Linked DNA regions of Homo sapiens: all the other regions are linked to region 2. Evidence: promoter capture Hi-C in human tissues and cell types (Jung and others, 2019). All regions are on one chromosome and are shown on one strand. The core of a region is centred on a gene start or on the middle of the fragment in contact, and the rest is flanking DNA. Distances in the headings are between cores, read along the strand shown. Region 1 overlaps ELOB (elongin B). Region 2 holds the start of ZSCAN10 (zinc finger and SCAN domain containing 10). Region 3 holds the start of ZSCAN32 (zinc finger and SCAN domain containing 32).

Region 1 (3,011 bases), core at 9-2,508, 330 kb before region 2:
CCCCGTGGCCCCACGGTAATGTCTCCTACCCCTGTGGGCCCAACCTGAAGGTCCCCAGCCCTTCCCACTGACCATGCTGGGGCCCCTTTCCTCATCTTCCATGTCCACTAGTGAGTCTGAGGGCTCACCATCTGCAGCCAGCATCACCCTTCACCCAGAATATATCTCCTTGTTCCCTTCACACACTTTGGGAGGCCGAGACGGGCAGATCATGAGGTCAGGAGGTCAAGACCATCCTGGCTAGCACGGTGAAACCCCATCTCTACTAAAAATACAAAAAAAAAAAAAAAAAAAAAATTAGCCGGGCATGGTGGCGGGCACCTACAGTCCCAGCTTCTCGGGAGGCTGAGGCAGGAGAATGACGTGAACCCGGGAGGCGGAGCTTGCAGTAGCTGAGATCGCGCCACTGCACTCCAACCTGGGCGACACAGACTCCATCTCAAAAAAAAAAAATCAAACTAGACTATCTAGACTATTCCTCCCCTGCTGAAAACCATCCAGTGGCTTCCCATCATGACCTGAATACCACCAAGTCCTTGCCGTCTGTCTCTCCCTCTGCTTCCCACGCTCTGAGGCTCTGGCTCTCTATGTTCTTCTGTAAGTTCTTTCCTAACTCAGACCTTCGCACTTGCTGGTCCCAGCACTCGGAATGGCTGGCTGCTTCTGGACTTTCAGGGTCCAACTCAGGTCACCTCCTCAGATGAACCTCCAGTCCACGCACCCCCAAAAGTCAAGACATCCTGACACTCTGGGCGTAGGGGCACTTACCACTGGACAAACTGCCCTTTTGACTGGCTCCAGGAAGGCAAAGGCCTTCCCTGTCTTGTCCCTACTGTCACCCCAACACACAGCAAACAAACCCACAGCTTTTCTCCTGTGCTTTCTTCCAGCTAGGAGACCCATCTCTGCTTGGCTCAGGGTTCTCAACTGATCAGGCATCCCAGGGAAAGCTGGAATGCCTGATCACAGTTGTGGCGGTCACAAATGGGGAGGTGGGGTGCCCCAGCGCTATCTAGTGGGTAGAGGCCTGGGATACGGCTCCACGTGCTATGGTGCACAAGGCAACCCACACAGCAATCCAGCCCAATGTGCCCACTGTGCCGAGGTTCAGAAACTAATCCATCTTCCAAGCCACAAACCTGTGACAATTCGTGCCTTCACTACCTCCCTCATTCTTTTGTGATGAGCCGGGACAATGCCCTTTAACATTTGATTTGAAATACTCATCTCCTTGAGTGGTAAGCTTGGGGGAGGGGAGAGGCGGAGGGTGGGGCACCCATTCAAGGCCTGGGAACAACATGATGATGGGTTGAGCTGCACCCAGAAGTGTGTTTCTGCAAGCATTCCATGGGGAAGCAAAGAGCTGACAGCCCATGCTGTGCCCCCTATCAAGACAGCCATCACCTGCAAGAGGGATGATGTGACCTGGGCTCCGGAGTCACCACCACATTCCATGCCATATTAGGGGTTGTGGGAGAAAAACAAGTCACCTTCCTTAGCCTTGATTTTCTCATCTGCAAAATGGGTCTATCAGTATCTTCCAAGTCACAGCAAACCTCTAGGGGTACCACTGTTGAAATTAGAGAAAGGGACACTTCTGGGGGAACACAGCCCAGCTTCGGTTCACGAAGCAGACCAGATATGCTCTTGGCACTCCCTTGCTCTCTTCAGACAGGCACCCCTGGGCCAGGCACCGAGGCTCAGGCCTGTAATCCCAGCACTTTGGGAGGCTGGGATGTATGGATCGCCTGAGGTCAGGAGATTGAGACCAGCCTGACTAACATGGTGAAACCCCATCTCTACTAAAAACACAAAGATTAGCTGGGCGTGGTGGCACATGCCTGTAATCCCAGCTCCTCAGGCCACTGAGGCAAGAGAATCGCTTGAACCCGGGAGGCAGCGGCTGCAGTGGGCTGAGATGGCGCCACTGCACTCCAGCCTAGACAACGGAGTGCGACTCTGTCTCAGAAACAACAACAACAAAAATGCACCCATGTACAAGGCACGACCTGTGTCTATGCCAGCCCTGCACCTGACTCTTAACATCACCATCTGGGCAGAAAGAGCCCACAGAAAGGCTCTGAAGCTTCCCATCTGTTGGGCACTGGCAGCAGGCCAGACCTGGGGTGCATGAGGACTCAACACCACCTTGCTGTGAAGCCAGTCTCATCACACCCCTTTAAGGAGAAGGGAACACTGGGGCCAGGAGGGGCAGGAGGGCAAGGTAGCTGGCCAGAGGATATAGCTGCTGAGACTGAGGCCTAGCCTGAACTTATGGAACGGAAAGGTGGAGCTAGGACTCTACTCTTCCTCTTCAGCCTTTGCTATGTTCCCTTACAGGCAGAAAAATAAGAATTCCTTACAACTTTATCCAAGTTTTCTCAGCCATCCACACAGCTGCTGGGTCCACAGCTGTGAAAACACAGCTCTATAACCTCTCTTCAAGTTCCTAGAGACAAAATATTTTAAATCTCCCCTCCCTTTCTCTTGGGTGGAAGAAGATATCTTGGCGAGTAGTAAACCACTCCCTAATCCCCAGGTTTCTAAAGCTTGGGCAGGGGTGGGGTATGGCTGATGGAAGCCCAGGCTCTGGATCTGAATCCTAGATGTGGCAGTCCCAGCAGATGACCTAACCTCCCCAGGCTCACTTTACTGAACCTGAAAACTGGCAAAATCCAAATCTCAGCCACACAGAGATGCAGAGGGTTTCGGTGATACATAGCATAGAGCCTGGTATGATGTCTGACTCCAGCAAGGGCCCGGCAGTCAGCATCCTAACCGTGGCTCCCTACGTGACTGCTGGTAAGCCTGTGTCCTCATCTGCAGAACACGGATGATGGTATGTGGACTTCCCAGGGCTACTGAGAGGATGAGACAGGGCAGTGGAAGCCACACACAGAGTAACATGCAGAGCACGGAGCCAGGCACTCACTCAGCCTCCTGTAAATGTGAGCTGGCTTCACAAAATAAGCTTTGGTTTCTGTAAGCATCTCATTTGGTTGCTTCTTTTT
Region 2 (3,368 bases), core at 548-3,047:
GGAGGTGGATGGGGACAGGGTGGGGCCAGATAAGCGAAGACAAAGTGAGAAATCCAGATTTCAACCCCTGCATGTGTGAGAGTGTAACCACCCCCGAGCCGGAACTACGCTTTCCTGCCCTCTGGCATCCACTCCAGGCAGCCCCCATCCTCCCACCCCATCTCTCCCCACTAGGGCGATGGAGTGCCTCAATCACAGATGAGCGTATTTCTCTGCCTGGCCTGGGAGTAGGAGCTGTGTCTAGTTCAATGAGTGTTCATCCAGCACTTGAAGTTGCTTCAGTGTCTGTTAGCAGAAATTAGGGAATGGCAGTGATTCTGGCCATCTCGAAGGAAAGCATGTAACAACGTCTAGGACAGAAAAAGTCTGTGATAAATGATCAGAAAAATGGTGTTGTGAGGCCGGATGCGGTGGCTCATGCTTATAATCCCAGCATTTTGGGTGGCCAAGGCAGAAGGATTGCTTGAACCTGGGGGGTCAAAGCTGCAGTGAGCCATGTTCGCGCCACTGCACACCAGCCTGGATAAAAGGCGAAGACCCTGTCTCAAAAAAAAAAAAAAAAAAAAGAAAGAAAGAAAGAAAAGAAAAGAAAAGAAAAAAAAAGAGTGGGGGAGGGGGAAGAAAATGGGATTACGTTTCACTGGTTTTTAGTAGCATGCACAAAATAACAAGAAAACTAATCACTGCTCATCCATTGCCGTGCAGGAGCAGCGGGCAGGTACTGAGTGTCTGGCGATTAAGCTCATTTCATCCCAGTCCAGCCCACGCACGAAACAATCACTTCTCCCTTTGCCAAGTGCAAAGACCAAGCTTTGCACTTGGTGACATGCTCAGGGTCACACCAGGTGGAGCCAAGGTTTGCTTTAGGCTGAGAGTGTAGGTCTAGAACACAGTGCCAAAGCTCTGAAACAGAAAAGGAACTGATCTCCATCCTGCTCTGTGCCATTTTCCTAGCCTTAGCCGAAATATCACAGCATGAAACAGAAAAAAAATGAAGATTCCAAATTTCAGCTCTCAGGGCAAGCCACACAGGGAGGCCGGAATCTCCAGGTGAGATCTCTCCAAAAGGTTTCAAAGAGGTGGAATTCGAGACAAGTTGGCTTCAGAGAATCTCTCCCTCCCCCCAGATCTCCAGGACAAAAGCTCTGTTAATATGCACCTCTGTTGGGGGTGGGCTGGGTAGGGAGGCAGGCAGAGGCTCTACAGCCACCATCCAACATTTGAGCAGCTTAATTTGGAGCCCGGGGTGGAGGTGCTGCCACGAGACCCACCCAGGTCACCTGAGAGCCCAGAGTTGGGGAAGGCGGCAAAGGTGGGGTCCTCAGCCGGGAACACTCCCTTTCTCCCTGGACACAGTTGGCAGCTGCCTGATTTGTTGTTTGTTGGAGGGGCCTCCCTCCGCGTGCTGGGCTGAGTGGACAAGGCCCATCAGTCCACCTGGGAGCACGTGAAGCCAGCCTTCTTCAATGTCACAGGAAGTTCTGCGATCTCCCTCGTCCCCAACGCCCCCATCGCGACAGGTCCACCAAGCTGGCTGGCACGAGGCTCCCCAGCAGACCCTCTACATCCTCCCAAGACTCTTCCAGCCCCCACCCCAGCACCAAGGCCTGGAGCCTCCCCTGCTCTCTCCAAGCTGCTGCGAGCTCCTAGCACCCGTCCTGGCAGCCTGCACCCCGACCTCCCTCCAACTCACCACTCGGAGTCCCCACTACACAGGCAGAGATGCTGGGGGGTTTTCTGAGGACTCCAGGGCCAAAGCCAGCCTCCGCCAGCCTGGGGAAGGGCTCTGGGAAAATGGAACAGGAAGTTCCTTGCCCCAGTCCCATCCCATCCAGGTGATGAGGGGCTTCCTAGAGTTAACCCTTAAGCTCCCAGTTTGGGAGCGGGATGGGAAGAGGGCGGGGCCAGTGACATGAAGACAAAGTGAGAAATCCAGATTTCAATCCCAGCCTGTGTGAGAGTGTAACCACCTCCCAAATCAAGACTGGCCTGGTGCCCCTTGCAGGTCTGCCCGTCTTTCCTTTGGGCTAAGAGCTGCCATTTTTAAATGCCCACAGTGTGCTGGCTTCTTTGCTAGGCTTTTCATTCACGTGACTACTCTTTGCAATGGCCTCCTGTGTGCCAGGCACTGTTACAAAGCAGGGGCTAAGGACACAGAGAGAAACTGAAGGAATGAGGCCCTGCTCTCAGGGGCTTACATTCTAGGGCAAAGGAGCAGCGACGGTGCTAGGAAAAAATGGAAGAGGAGGATGTGATGGGGCAGAGTTTGCTCCATCTACACGGTCACCTAAAGTCCTCCCAAGTCCTGCCAGGTGGCTTTTGTCCCAACTTTACCGATGACGAAGCAAGGGCTCCCCGGGAGGGAAGTGACCTAACCAACAGCGTTTGGCCCCAAACTAATTCCATCCCTGTGCTTAAGGTGCCTTCTTGGGTTGTGCCCTTGGCTGCAGCTGGTGCCTTCCTGAGCGTTCTGAGCCCCCGGGGAGCCAGGACCACCTCTCAGGTGTTGGCCGTTCCCCCGGCCTAGACCCCTCGGTCCGTTGGGGCCAGGACCCTCCTGACTGGCTCATCTGACGGGTCTTTGTTTTCCTGCACTTAACACCTGAGCTCATCCTGTTCCTACTTCAGTTGTCTAGTGCTCCCTTCGTACGACGGTCTTTCTCCTTGGTCTGCTCTGCATTCCCCGCGTCCCGCGCCTCGCTCTCCCAGTCGCGGGCTCCTCCCACTCCATAGTTTGTTCAGGGGCGGGGCCAGAAAACCCCGCCCCCAGGGAAGTGGGCCTGAAGGCCAAGGGGCGGGGCGGGGTTCTGTAGGGACGGAGGGGGCGTGTCCGGGGCGGGGCGGGGTGCTGTAGCGCCGGAGCGGGTGTGGCCTTGGCGGGACCAGGCAGCCATTACAGTCTCGGAAGCGAGAGGCGTGGGGCCTGTCTCATCATGCCCGGTTCATTTTTTTTTTTTTTTTTTTTTTTGTAGAGATGGGGTTTCATCATTTTGGCCAGGCTAGTCTTGAACTCCTGAACTCAGGTGATCCACCTGCCTTGGCCTCCCAAAGTGCTGGGATTACAGGCATGAGCCACCGCACTCAGCCTCTTTAATCACCTGAGGTCAGGAGTTCAAGACTAGCCTGGACAACATGGTGAAACCCCATCTCTACTAAAAATTTTTGTTTCTTTTAAAATTGTAATTTTCCCAATTCCACTTATTTTATTTTATTAGAGACAAGGTCTTGCCATATCTCCCAGGCTGGACTCAAACTCCTGGGTTAAAGTGATCCTCCCATCTCGGTCTACCAAGGAGCTGGGACTACAGCTGGGACTCCATGCCATCGAGCGTTCTTTCCCTCTCGTTGCTGAATGATTTTCCTCATTA
Region 3 (3,163 bases), core at 413-2,912, 300 kb after region 2:
CATGAGAGGTAGGGAAAGCTCTTCATTTTCTAGGAATTGGTAAATTGGGCAAATGTAAGATCAGAGTTGTCTCCAACTATGTCCCACTCTCTACTCCACTCTTCCATCACAGGAGTGAGCCTGTTTACAAGAGGACAATATACTCAAGTCTTGACAACATGTTTGGATCTCCAAGGCCAGTTTATGTAAGGCAATATTTTTTTAAGAGTTAATTTTAAAAATAGTTTTATATAATTTAAAATTAATAAATAACTTTTAAAAATAATTTTATTTGTTTTTTTATCTTTAGAGATGGAGTCTCACTCTGTTGCCCAGGCTGGTCTCAAACTCCTGAACTCAAGCAATCCTCCCACCTCAACCTCCCAAAGTGTTAGGATTACAAGTATAAGCCACCATGCCCGACCTTAAAAATAATTTTAAATAGAAGCTAACTTTTGTATTTTTTGTAGAGGTGGAGTTTCACTATGTTGCCCAGGCTGGTCTCAAACTCCTGTGCTCAAGTGATCCTCCCACCTTGGCCTCCCAAAGTGCTGGGATTACAGGTGTGAGCCACTGCACCCGCGAAGGCAGTCTTTTTTAATGAGTTTGTGTTGGTTTTTATCTACTTAAAACACAGATTAAAGCAGATCGTAATTTACATTTTCTCCAGGGGCTGATACACCCTCACCATGTGGTATTAAAATGGATCCAGCATGCACAACAAGATGAATATACTCAGGACTACTGAGCTGTACACTTAAAAATGGTTATGATGGTAAATGTTTTTTAAAAATTAAAGAAATTTTTTTATATTTTAAAAATGGATTTGGGTTCCCTTTTCTCAAGGAACTTGAACTGCCTTCACTTAAATTCTCTTTACATTTCAGTGCTTCTAGAGATAGAGAAATCAAGGGCATTATTATTGTTAGCACTGCTTTCTAGCCAAAAAGAAACTGAGAGCGATGAAGTATCTTGCCTAAAGCATCACACAGCACAGCTCCTAGGCAGCAAGGCCAGGACTAGAACCAGCACCCCTTGCCTTCATTATGTTCATCCTGTGCCTTACCTGGCTGAAGAAGAATTTAATAAAAGCTCTTCTAACTTCATGCAGAAGGCGGAACCTGCACCCTTCTTGACCCCTTTTGACCCCTTACCTCCCACTCATCGTTAAATTTTAAAATGCTGTTCTCTGAAAATTTTACTTCACTCTAGCGATGGCCCAAACACTCGGAAAAAAATGTAGCATGAGGATGGGGAGCCAGGTTGATAGGTTTTTCACTTAGTTAACTATTTATTGAGTACTCAGAACGCACTCGGTGCCAGGGCTAGGCACTGTGGATGAGTAGGGAGTGGGCGAGACAGGGACGAGATGAGCAGGGTCAAGGCCAGGGGGTCCCGGGGCGCCGGCGCTCAGGCTCGGGGTGATCCGCACGGTGGGAGCGGGGCACGGTGATCGCGGCGCGTCTGGGGACGCCCGGCCTGAGGGAGGCTGCCTGTCCCAAGGAGACGCCCATCGGGGCCGGACCCGAACGCCTCGGAGAAGACTCCCAGCGGGGAGGGGCTCCTCGGCCGTCGCAGGGCCCAGCGGCTAATCCCGCCGGCCGCAAGGAAGCGGAGAACTCACCGGACACCAGCACTCGCGACTCCACAAACTCCCTCAGCCTCCGGGCCGGAAGTCAGCGGCGCGATTCGCTCCGCCCATTACGCACGCCCCTGCGCAGGCCCGCAAGCCGAATTGCCGGACTGCAGCTCCCGGGATGCACTGCGACGGTATTGACAGGCGCAGCAACCAATAGACGGTAGAGAATGCCCTTGGCAGGAGGCGGGCCCTGTCAGTAGTTGTCCTCAGCAGCTAGTGGGCGTCTCCGCAGCGAGTGGCATCGGCCCCGCCCCCAGCCCGTGCTCGCCGGTGTCGGGTCCTAAGTCCCTCGGTCTTGGGTTCCCGGAGAGGTGAGTCGGCTGCAGGTGGGTGCGGGGCGCCGGGCTGTTCGGGGTACCGGTGTCGCAGTCGCCAGTCCGAGCTCACACCGGGCGTGGAGTTCAGCTGCGCATCGGGTTGCGGCAGCTTCGCCAGGCCTGGGGCTGGCTGGGCCGCGGGGCCGCCCTGGAGGCCGGAGCCACTGGGCCTGCGGCGCCTCGGCAGCGAGCAGCCGCTTTGCTCGCGTGCAGGAGGCTGTTCGCTACCTCACACCCCCGGCTGGCGCTGTGGCCTCGCTTAGCTCTACCGTTTAGCACCCGGCGACATGCACCCGGTCGGTTTCCGCCAGGATGCGGGAGAGTTGGGGCAAGCTACCTGCGACAGCTTGAACTTTTCCTAGGGATTCCGCTCCACCCGCCGGTTAGAGCGTATTGCTCATTAAATCCGAGACCTGTGTGCTTGCTACTGAAATAAAAGAAGTATTTTTTCCCCAGAGTCCTTTTAGGACGTTATGACTTTTCTCCTTTGCAAGACTGCAAAAAACTGACAAGAAGACAAAACTCTTCCCACTCCCAGGGACCGCGTTGTCTTGAGTTTGGCTAGTAAAGGCTAGCAAGTGAGGCTTTGTCTCTGCATCCCGTTCCCCCTAACATCCTCAGAGAACCTTCGTTTCTAGAATCTTTCTAGTATTCAGAGACTTCTCCAGGGTCATGATCCCAAAGGCTTAACCCGTTTACAAGGAGAGAGTTGTCTCCTGACGCCCAAAATGGCAGCTAAAATGGAGATAACTTTAAGCTCCAACACTGAAGCTTCCTCCAAGCAAGAGAGACACATAATAGCCAAACTAGAAGAGAAACGGGGCCCTCCTCTGCAAAAAAACTGCCCAGATCCTGAGCTCTGCCGCCAGAGCTTCAGACGCTTTTGTTATCAAGAGGTGTCTGGACCCCAAGAGGCTCTCTCCCAGCTCCGACAGCTCTGCCGTCAGTGGTTGCAACCCGAGCTGCACACCAAGGAGCAGATTTTGGAGCTTCTGGTGATGGAGCAGTTCCTGACCATCCTGCCCCCGGAGATCCAGGCTCGGGTCAGGCATCGATGTCCAATGAGCAGCAAGGAGATTGTGACCCTCGTGGAAGATTTTCACAGAGCATCCAAGAAACCAAAGCAGTGGGTAAGGAGGGTCCTCTCCCATCATCCTGGGGATTTCTTTTTCTTTTCTTTTTTTTTTTTTTTCTTTTTTTGAGACGGAATCTTGCTCTTTCGCCCAGG

The links. The method cuts DNA at HindIII sites, captures the fragments that hold promoters and counts their contacts. A contact is called where the count stands out against the background at its distance.
Region 1: a fragment that was not itself captured here is called in contact with the fragment with the promoter of ZSCAN10 in region 2 in 1 of the 25 tissues and cell types used here (dorsolateral prefrontal cortex).
Region 3: a contact is called between the fragment with the promoter of ZSCAN32 here and the fragment with the promoter of ZSCAN10 in region 2, in 3 of the 25 tissues and cell types used here (dorsolateral prefrontal cortex, spleen and thymus).

Annotation. Positions count from the first base shown.
Region 1 is chr16:2,772,264-2,775,274 of GRCh38, forward strand. The region is part of intron 3 of ELOB (elongin B); the gene reads right to left. Among named protein-coding and RNA genes, the nearest start is that of ELOB, 3.5 kb to the right of the region's middle. RefSeq lists a silencer at 806-958. The HindIII fragment of the contact is 3,004 bases long and covers 1-2,760 here.
Region 2 is chr16:3,097,497-3,100,864 of GRCh38, forward strand. It overlaps ZSCAN10 (zinc finger and SCAN domain containing 10), which reads right to left and starts at 1,798. Exons shown (of 6, transcript NM_032805.3): 1 at 1,694-1,798. RefSeq lists an enhancer at 2,551-2,600 and a silencer at 2,761-2,820. The HindIII fragment of the contact is 18,144 bases long and covers 287-3,368 here.
Region 3 is chr16:3,399,342-3,402,504 of GRCh38, forward strand. It overlaps ZSCAN32 (zinc finger and SCAN domain containing 32), which reads right to left and starts at 1,663. Exons shown (of 7, transcript NM_001284527.2): 1 at 1,604-1,663. ZNF174 (zinc finger protein 174) reads left to right here and starts at 1,874. Exons shown (of 3, transcript NM_003450.3): 1 at 1,874-3,065. The coding sequence starts at 2,664. LOC105371059 (a long non-coding RNA gene) reads left to right here. Exons shown (of 4, transcript XR_007064949.1): 3 at 1-185; 4 at 290-328. RefSeq lists silencers at 1,301-1,450, 2,001-2,220 and an enhancer at 1,424-1,923. The HindIII fragment of the contact is 10,964 bases long and covers 1-3,163 here.